3 separate regions of the Homo sapiens genome follow, and regions 2 and 3 are each linked to region 1. Evidence: promoter capture Hi-C in 16 types of primary human blood cells and fetal thymus (Javierre and others, 2016). All regions are on one chromosome and are shown on one strand. The core of a region is centred on a gene start or on the middle of the fragment in contact, and the rest is flanking DNA. Distances in the headings are between cores, read along the strand shown.

Evidence for each region. The method cuts DNA at HindIII sites, captures the fragments that hold promoters and counts their contacts. A CHiCAGO score of 5 or more calls a contact.
Region 2: a contact is called between a fragment that was not itself captured here and the fragment with the promoter of EDEM1 in region 1, in 1 of 17 cell types (non-activated CD4 T cells). The highest score is 5.1, in non-activated CD4 T cells.
Region 3: a fragment that was not itself captured here is called in contact with the fragment with the promoter of EDEM1 in region 1 in 1 of 17 cell types (non-activated CD4 T cells); the score reaches 8.3 in non-activated CD4 T cells.

What each region holds. Positions count from the first base shown.
Region 1 is chr3:5,186,355-5,189,302 of GRCh38, reverse strand. It overlaps EDEM1 (ER degradation enhancing alpha-mannosidase like protein 1), which reads right to left and starts at 1,596. Exons shown (of 12, transcript NM_014674.3): 1 at 989-1,596. The coding sequence starts at 1,497. RefSeq lists an enhancer at 608-657 and silencers at 808-1,097, 1,148-1,317, 1,558-1,967. The HindIII fragment of the contact is 7,598 bases long and covers 1-2,806 here.
Region 2 is chr3:63,983,258-63,986,084 of GRCh38, reverse strand. All of the region lies in intron 8 of ATXN7 (ataxin 7), which reads right to left. Among named protein-coding and RNA genes, the nearest start is that of PSMD6-AS2, 19 kb to the left of the region's middle. The HindIII fragment of the contact is 819 bases long and covers 1,161-1,979 here.
Region 3 is chr3:69,081,230-69,084,205 of GRCh38, reverse strand. No RefSeq gene overlaps it. Among named protein-coding and RNA genes, the nearest start is that of ARL6IP5, 2.2 kb to the left of the region's middle. RefSeq lists enhancers at 1,106-1,265, 2,070-2,129. The HindIII fragment of the contact is 2,467 bases long and covers 116-2,582 here.

The DNA of each region.
Region 1 (2,948 bases), core at 347-2,846:
CTGCTTTCCTCCAGGTGAAGGAAAATGCTTGCCCCAGACGGTGCCAAGACACTGAGCAAACCAACTCCTCCACTCCCATCCAGGGGAGGGGAGTCAACTATTTGGACTAACAGGGTCTATGGCAATGCACATTCCTTCCCTACAGGTAAGAGGTCCTTAGCTGGGTGTACTGCCCTCTTGGACTTTGATGTCAACAGTGGTGACCCTTGGAGCTCAGCCTTTGCAAACAAGGCTGGTGAACAGGGAAGACTGCCTGACCTTCCCGGACAACCACGCCACCAGAGGCGGGGGATTTATAGACAGATCGTACAGGGCGATGACGTTGACAGTCAATCTGGCATCCAGTGAATTTCACCTCAAGTATCTGGACCCCAAAAGTGGGCCACATAGCTTCCCTCCCCACCACCTAACTATCCTCAGCCTAAGAAGCAGCCCCTGTGAAGGAGAGGCTGTAACCCCGTTCTGCCTCAAACTCAATGGACGGCTTTGGAGAAGTCAACTATAGGCTTTTTACATAGAAAAGACGTGGGTGTGGCAATGTGATAGAGGTGGGGGTGCGAGGTAAAGGCTTGTTCTGAGGCTGCGTTTACACGGGGGGCATGATGGAGATTTCATTTAGAGTTTATGCTCATCCGGAGGAAGGGGTCGGATGGAAGTGGAAAGCCCTCCAAGCCAGCCCTTGGCACTGCCACTGTCCCTTCTGGTCCTGGACCTCAGTATCCTCACGCGTAAGACACTGAGCTGGACAGCAGTTCTGAAGTTTGGAGATTCCGGGAGAATCAGGAGAGGAAGGCCACCGGCCCACCCCGCACCCTCAAGCTCGGGGGTCTTCACAGGGACTCACACGGGACAGGGCGCGGGAGCGCTGCCCGGGACCCTAACGGCCCTGGCGCCCTCGGGGGCCCCGGAGGACAGAGGGCTGCACCCCGGCGCGGAGGGCGGAAGGAAGCGCGTGGGCGCGCGGCCCCGGGCGGCGGGGGCTACTCACGGGTCCCCGCGGTCGGGCCCACGGCCGCGGCAGTGGATGGGGTTGAGCTCGTCCTGGGGGAAGGCGTGAGCCATGTAGTTGTCGTAGCCAAAGACGAACATGCCCCGTGCCAGGTCGCGCATCTGGGCACGCAGCTGCGGAGGGAAGGCGCCGCTGTAGCGCTTCTCGTACTCGTCCGGGCCGCGGCCCCGGCCGCCCAGCACGTAGCCCCAGTTGGCTGGGCCGCACATCCCCGGCCCAGGACGCCGCGGAGCCTTGCGCGGGCTCTGCGCTGCCCCGGTCCCCGGCGGCTGCAGCCACGACGGCCCGGATACCCCCCCAGGCCGGCCCACGGGCCCCGAGGTGGGCGACGCGGGGCCGTCGGGGCTCCTCAGACGCTGGAAGCCGAAGCTGAGCGGAAAGCGCTGGTAGAAGCCCATGCTGGGCCCCAGCCCGAAGACGAGCCACAATACTCCATGGAGGCCAAGCCGGAGGAGCACCAGCCCCAGGACGAGCGCTCGCCATTGCATGGTCGCGCGGGCGCCGCGGGCATTATTTTAAAGCGCGGGGGCCTCCCCGCCGACCACCGCACCCCGCGCTCGCCCCGTAGCCCGGCTCGCTTCCCCTTTAAGGAACTCCCCCGTGACGCACCAGGAACTAGCCCATCGTCCCCAACCCCCAGGCTCTCCGGCGGGCCGGCCAGGCCCCACGGTCGCCCGCCCAGTGGCCCGGGATTGGCCCGGCCTGGGCCCGGCCTCGCGGGGCGCGGCCCAGGACTCCCTCCCACGCAGTAGGCCGCCAGGACGTCCGCGACGCCCCGAGGCCCCGCCCCTCACCCGGGCCCCGCCCCAACTCCCAAGCCCCGCCCCCCTGGGCGGTCCGTAGCCCGATGGGCTGGCGTGGCGAGCAGGAGCCGCGCCGGCCCGCGAGGGAACTTCCAGCCAATGGGAGAGCGGCACGGCAGCGCCCGCCGGACGCTGGACACAGACGTGACCCCAGACCGCCTGGCCTTGGGTGGATCGGGTCTCTGGGCAGAGCGTGTGTCCGGCAGAGCTAGGACCGGAAAAAGCCACTCTAGGTCTAGGTTAGGAGTGATGACAGTTAAAAGATATATAAGGAAAAGAAGGAAAGGATCGTTTCTGTATAAAACGAGCTATTTTTGCATATCGAGCGCATAAGTTTTATAACTTAGGTGTCTGTTTATGGAGAGGGTGGGATACTACCTTTTAGCTCAAGGAGTGCACAAAACGGTATCATGAATTCTGCTCTTTTGATTCAAACACCCAACTTTGAAGAATCGCTCATGGTGCTTGTAAAACACGTATCCCCAGATCCCTCCCTAGACCTATCGAACAACTCCAACGGTCTCGGGAATGTGCGTGTAAGTACTCTTGGACAGTTCTTAGAAACTGGAAGTTTCAGGAAATACAAAGTTATGTTATATTGCTTTTGTCTCGGAAATAGGATTTTTTTAAAAGGGGGGGGCGGGTTGGGGGTGGGAATGAAGGCTCCCACCACCACCAAATTATTTACCAGATATATCTAAACATGTCTTCTCCTGTCCCTCCCATCCTACCATCTCTCCTGTGCACCCGCAATTAGTGACCTAACCTTTGAGGTGTGGGGTAGATTCCCAGTTAAATAACTTTACCCCTCTGTATCTACTTCCTATAATTAAGAAGATTGCAAATGTTAGCTCTAAAGGGCTATGGCTTTCACATAAAGATTCAATGGTTTAGGCGCTTATTTATTTTGCTTGCTGCATTTGGAGTTGGCTGTAAGTTTTGCCCTCCCTAAGTTTAGACCCTATGCCTGTTTCATCAGGGTTTCTGAAAAGCTTGGGAAGCAAGACCTGACTAGACCCCCAAATCTGATATTGGCTGAATGGCCGACCAATGGAGTGCATAAGAAGGTAAGTTGTCATGTGGCACTCTCATCACATTTTCAGGGTAGAGGACTTTCTGAAATACAGAGGAGGTGT
Region 2 (2,827 bases), core at 321-2,820, about 59 Mb before region 1:
CAGATAAATCATCACATTGATTTCAGCCCAATGTTCCTATGGCAAGAAAGCCTTCCCTGGAAAAACTTCATTTTTGCAGGCTTTCATAATGTAGTCCTCTCATCTTTTTATAACTCATCAGTGGTAATTTTACAGTTATTTTGGTGATTAATACTCTCCATCTCTTTCATTAGACTGTAAGCACCACAAGCATAGGGAACACGTGGTTATTGTGCTAAACCCTTTATTCCCTGCGACCTAGAAAGAGTGAGGCCTGTGCTCACAGATGTACGTAATAAAAAGTTCTACAATGAGTGAATGGACAAAGGCTACAGGAGTCACAAATCTCTCCGCGTGGAAGGCACAGAGGACTTTCGACGGGATATTAGACAGATGAAGAAGTGAGGAGGGGCAGTGAGGATGGGAGACAGACAACAGAGAATGAGTAATGGGAATGAACAGCAGCAAATCCCCTGACGGTGAAGAGAACAGATAACGTTCTAAGTCTAAGACAGAAGAGACCTGGCAGCAACTTGGGAAACACTCAGGGTAGGGACATGCAGGCATGTTTAGCCCTACCAAGCTTAATAGATTCAGACCAACGTGAAGGCAAGGAAAAGGAAAAGAACTGACAAAACAATGAAAAAAAGTCAAGTCATCCTGTAAAAGGGCAGGCCTGGTGGATGCTGCATTTTCTGCCAGTTCTATGCTGATCTCATGACAAGCTGGGTCTCAAGACTTATTAATGCAATGACAGGCTTAGCCCAATGCCACGGAGAGTAATGACACCCTTAAAGAAGGACGACAAGGGGAGCATATATCATTTGAAAAGGAAGATGTGAGAAAAATGCAGACCCATTCAAAGTCACTCCACCTAGCAATAAAGGCACAGGAAGAATGCCAGTCAAGCTCCTTGAAGATTTTGAGTTGAAAAAAAACTTTTGGCAACCTCACTTCTGGGTAGTTATCCAAAATAACTGAAATCAGAATCTCAAAGAGCTATTAGAACTCCTATGTTCACTGAAGTATTATTTATAATAGACAAGATGTAGAAACAATATAAATGTCTGTCAACAGGTGACTGGATGAAGACAACATAGTATATACATACACTGGAATACTATTCAGCCCTTAAAAAGAAGGAAATTCTGCAATATGCTACAACAAGTATGAGGTAAGCTTGAAGACATTATACTAAGATAAATAACCCAGTCACATAATGACTAAACACCGCATGATTCCACTTATATGAGATCTATAATCAAACTCACAGAATCAACAACTAGAGTGGTGGCTGCCAGCGGCTGAAGGGAGAGCGAAATAAGGAGTTACTAATCAATGAGCATAAAGTTTCAGTTATAGCAAGATGAACAAGTTCTAGACATCTGCTGTATAATATTCTTTCACAGTCAACAATACTGTCTTGCACACTTAAAGGTGTGGTTCCCTGCCACGCTTTGTAAATGACTGAAAAAGAACATCTTGGGTTTGAAAAAAGCAAACCTCATTGCCCACAGGTACTGTATTACTGAGAAATCCATGTTACTGAGAGTCAGGTAGGCAGGAAGAGCGCAGAAGGAGAATGGCAAGTTGTGATCATGATGTGGACAGGGCTGAGGCATGCTTTCACACATTCTCTTAGGGACAGCTGAAACTGACATAATTCTACAGAACTCAGGTGGCTATCTTCATACACCACCACCACTACACCACTGTGTGTCCAATTAGTACCCTATACAAAAAAAAAGCAGTTTGTTTTATGAGAGTTTTTAACCTAGAAATCCAAGGATGGGCTTGGGGTGGGGGTGTCCATTAATCCAAGATAGAAAAATTCAGAATGTGTATGTGTATGCACTATTTTATTCTCGGAAGATGGACCGTGGTTTTTTTTTTTTAAAAATGAGATATTTAAAGGTACTCTTGACCAACCCTTTTCCCCAAAAAGGTTCTGAACCACTGTTGTAAGACAAAATCTATATACTAAAATTAAATTAGAAGCTTAAAGTAAGAACCACTTAAAAATTTCCCACTCCAGAAGACTGTAACATGCCTCCACTGGCTGGGGCATGGGACAGGGCCTGAAGTCCTTTATTCAAATACACTTTAATAAAATTTAAAGTAAAACACTAACAATTTTATTAATTTTTAGAAGAAAATGCTAACTTTTATCATTTTTACTTCCTCCCTCTAAGGTTTTAAAATTACATACTTCAAAGCAGTGACTCTGAATGCTTCTTGAACCTATCTGGGGGGTAGCTGGGGACACCCTCCAGAGAAATGCACATCAACATACAAGCTCATTTATGTAGAGGTGTTCACTGATGACCTGAAGCCACCCCACATCAATAACCCACACTTTTCAGCAAATATACCTTATTAGCATACTGGCATTTTAAAAGAAGGAAGACCCCAGAGCAAAAAGGAAGACCATTACATTTTCTTAGCTTGTATATAAATTATTAATATATTTTATCTAGTTTTTTTTTTCTCTTAAAAGAGATGGGTCTCGTAATGTTCTCCAGGCTGGACTCAAACTCCTAGGCTCAAGCAATCCTTCTGCCTCAGCCTCCCCACTAGCTGGGACTTACAGGCATGCCTGGCTTGCAGTATTTTTTTTTTAAACTAGAAAACAGGGATATTTCAAAATCACAGATTTTTTAAAAAGTGGTTCTTTAAAATTTAAGACCATGGGTGACACATTTTTTAAATGTTCATACACACGCAAGGGAAATTTCTGCACTTGCTTTAAGCCAGTATAATTTAAAGCACAGTCAAGGGTAGCCTATATGGAAATATTAAAAGTTTTTAAAAATAACAGACTGGGAGAGAACACTATTCCTGTGGATAC
Region 3 (2,976 bases), core at 100-2,599, about 64 Mb before region 1:
TTTGGTGACAGCTTTCACTGAGGGACCACAATATATTCATAGATAACGTGATGTTTTGTATCCCAGCCCAAAGACCTGGCAAAAGAAGTATTCGTTGTCAATTCTCTTCTAAGCTTCCAAGGGTCATCTTTTTTCAGTTAAGGGGCTGATTGGTACAATGCATGAGAAAAAAAGTAGTTTGTTTAATTGTATAATGTAATAGGTAGAATTCTAAGGTGAAGATTTCTAAGATAACAGAGTCTCTAAGCCCCTAAGTGGCTTAGACAAGGTGAATTCACTCTACTCAGATCACCAATTTTTGAAAACTTGGAAAGTAATGAAATATACTAATGCAAAGTCTAGAAAACATAATTTAATTTTCCTTATTAATTCAGAAGACAGTTAAGGAGCTTACAGCGACTCTAAGAAATTACTACTACTACTGTTGTTTAGGAAAATTTGGTGATTGCATGGAATTAGTGCTAAGATATATCTTATGTGCTGCTTTTTGAATAAAGTTTAAAATGTGAAAATATTCCTGAGTGCTCATGTTTTCTTGATTCTGGAAAAATGGGATGGTGTGAAGTCAGAGAAAGCAAAATTAGAGTCGCAGCTCCTTCCTCTCTGGCAGGTGACTTTGGAGAAACTACTTAATCTCTCCCAGCCTCGGTGTCTTCATGTGTAAAGTGGGGATAATGGAACATCTGCCATATAGACGAGGCTAAGTGAAGGAATGTATAGGAAATGCTTAGTGTATAATAAAGGTTCACAGTTATATGTTACTATTATTGTTATTAGCAATAGGATAGCCCACGATTCTTGTTTGCTATTAATAGTGCTTTAATCTGATTTGTTTTCTATGCTTTCATTATAAACATCTACTAACTTTTCTCTACCTTGCTCCAACTTTATTGTTGTGGATGTATCTGGGTAGGGGGAAAAGGTTGAGAATATTCAGTACAATGCCAGCAAGTATTTCGAGTTCTTTTGAGGCTCTGTGAAAGCACTGTGGGTTTTTTTTCTTTTCTTTTCTTTTTTTTTTTAAAGAGGAGAAAAATGTAATCCTGCTCTGCCTTCAAAACTTCTGCAATCCAGTGGAAACACTAGTTAAATATGAGACAGTAAGAGGAGTGCTAAATAGAGATGCACTGAGCCTCAGTGCTCAGTTACAGGAAGTCAGAGGGTGTGGAGGAATTCCCCAGGGCTTCAGAATGTCAAGAGGCAGCACTGTGGGCAAGCTGAGTAAATCATCTTGGTCAAGATGAGAGTGGGAACTCCAGTGGGGCCCCACACTGTTGGTGAGATTTATGAGTATTAGAAGCTGTAACTAAGAACTTTATCTTCCAACTGCTCAGAACTGCATGACCAAAAGCTGTCAAGAGTGTATTAGTAACAATATGATTACTCCTTGATCACAGGCAATTGATACCCAAGAAAGAATTAAACCTCTTTAGAGGTTTAAACATAAATAAATAAATTCTGAAAAGACAGAGAAAGCTGTTTATAGCATGATTCCCTTCTGTCTCCCTCCCAAAATGTTAACCCTGTCTCTCTCTTTGGGGTATGGGAGATTTTTTTTTTCTCTAAATATTTCTACCTTTGTTAAATTATTTTAAATAAAAATGAACATGTAATGAGTCATTACTTTTTTCCAGTAACTGTTTGAAATGCTATTAGTAGCAGCTCTTTGTTAGTGTTCATTCCGGGGAGGGAGGGGTCAGATTCACTGTAGAGGTCTTTCTGGAGCTTTAATTTATTATTATTTTTAGAGACAGGGTCTCACTATGTTGCCCAGGCTGGTTTTAAACTCCTGGGCTCAAACAGTCCTCCCACCTCAGCCTCCCAAGTAGCCGGGACTACAGGTGTGGGAAGCCGAGCCCTGCTTGATGGGGCTTTTATAATGGGACTGGTGTGTCTAGATAGGACCATTCAGACTATCTGTCTGTTTAAAAACCATAGCAGATAGTCTAATTGTTTATGATATGTTCCATTTGAAGTAAAATAAATCTGTTGAAGGTTTTGCTTGCATGTCTCTGTTGCTTTCATTCCTGGCAAGGGCAGATGGCTATTTCTAATCCGTCAATCAATCTAAGCCAGTGAGAGTGCCTGGTGTCGTTTATCAAAATACCACCATGGTGAGTCAGGCTGTTAGTCTCAAAGCAAGCAGATGCAGGGCCAGATACCTTTGCAGACTTCTTCATCGGCTAGCTGTACTCTATCCCTAGGCCTCAGTTTCCTCCCCTGTGAAATGGGTGAGACTGGACTAGGTGGCCTTTAAGGTGACTGCTGCTTTTCACTATCTGAGAGGGTTGCAATGCTCACTACCACTAATCAAAGGGTATCCAGTATTGTTGGGGGTTCAGGCTACAGGAGCCCATTTTGATAAGCACTGAGGTTAAATCCTCAGTGAAACCATCTGTGGAGTTGTCTGGGCAAGAAAAAGTAGTTTCATAGTTGACGCTGAGACATGTGATGCAGAAGGAGGCTGGTATCTCTTGATAGGGACTGTGAACTCTATTCCCACGCTCACTGCCTGGCATTGACTTTCAGCTCAGTGAATGCTATTGAACTGAACCTAATTGGGGGACCATAAAGGACAAGCTTTCCTTAAGGTTCACTGAAAACTAGGACAAGAGGAGGTTAAATATCACAGTGTAGTAACAGCAGCTACATTTACTGAGTACCCATCAGGCTTTATGTACTCCATTTCAGTGGCCCTCAAACTTTACCAGTGGAGAATCACCCCAGGCTTTGCAGAAGGCTGAAGGGTGGGGTGGCGGGGGGGCGGTGGGGAGCGTGGTGGGGGCGGTGAGGGGTGAAAATTTGTGTTAAAAAAAACTTCCCAAGTGATGTTGATCAGGAACTGTATTTTGAGAGCCACTCTGGATTTTACTTAATTATCAGTCTTACAAGGTGAATAGTGTTATGCCCACTTTATAAATGAAGAAATAGAAGTGTCTAAGGGTTTCGTAGCTCACAACTGAGAAGAATTTAAAA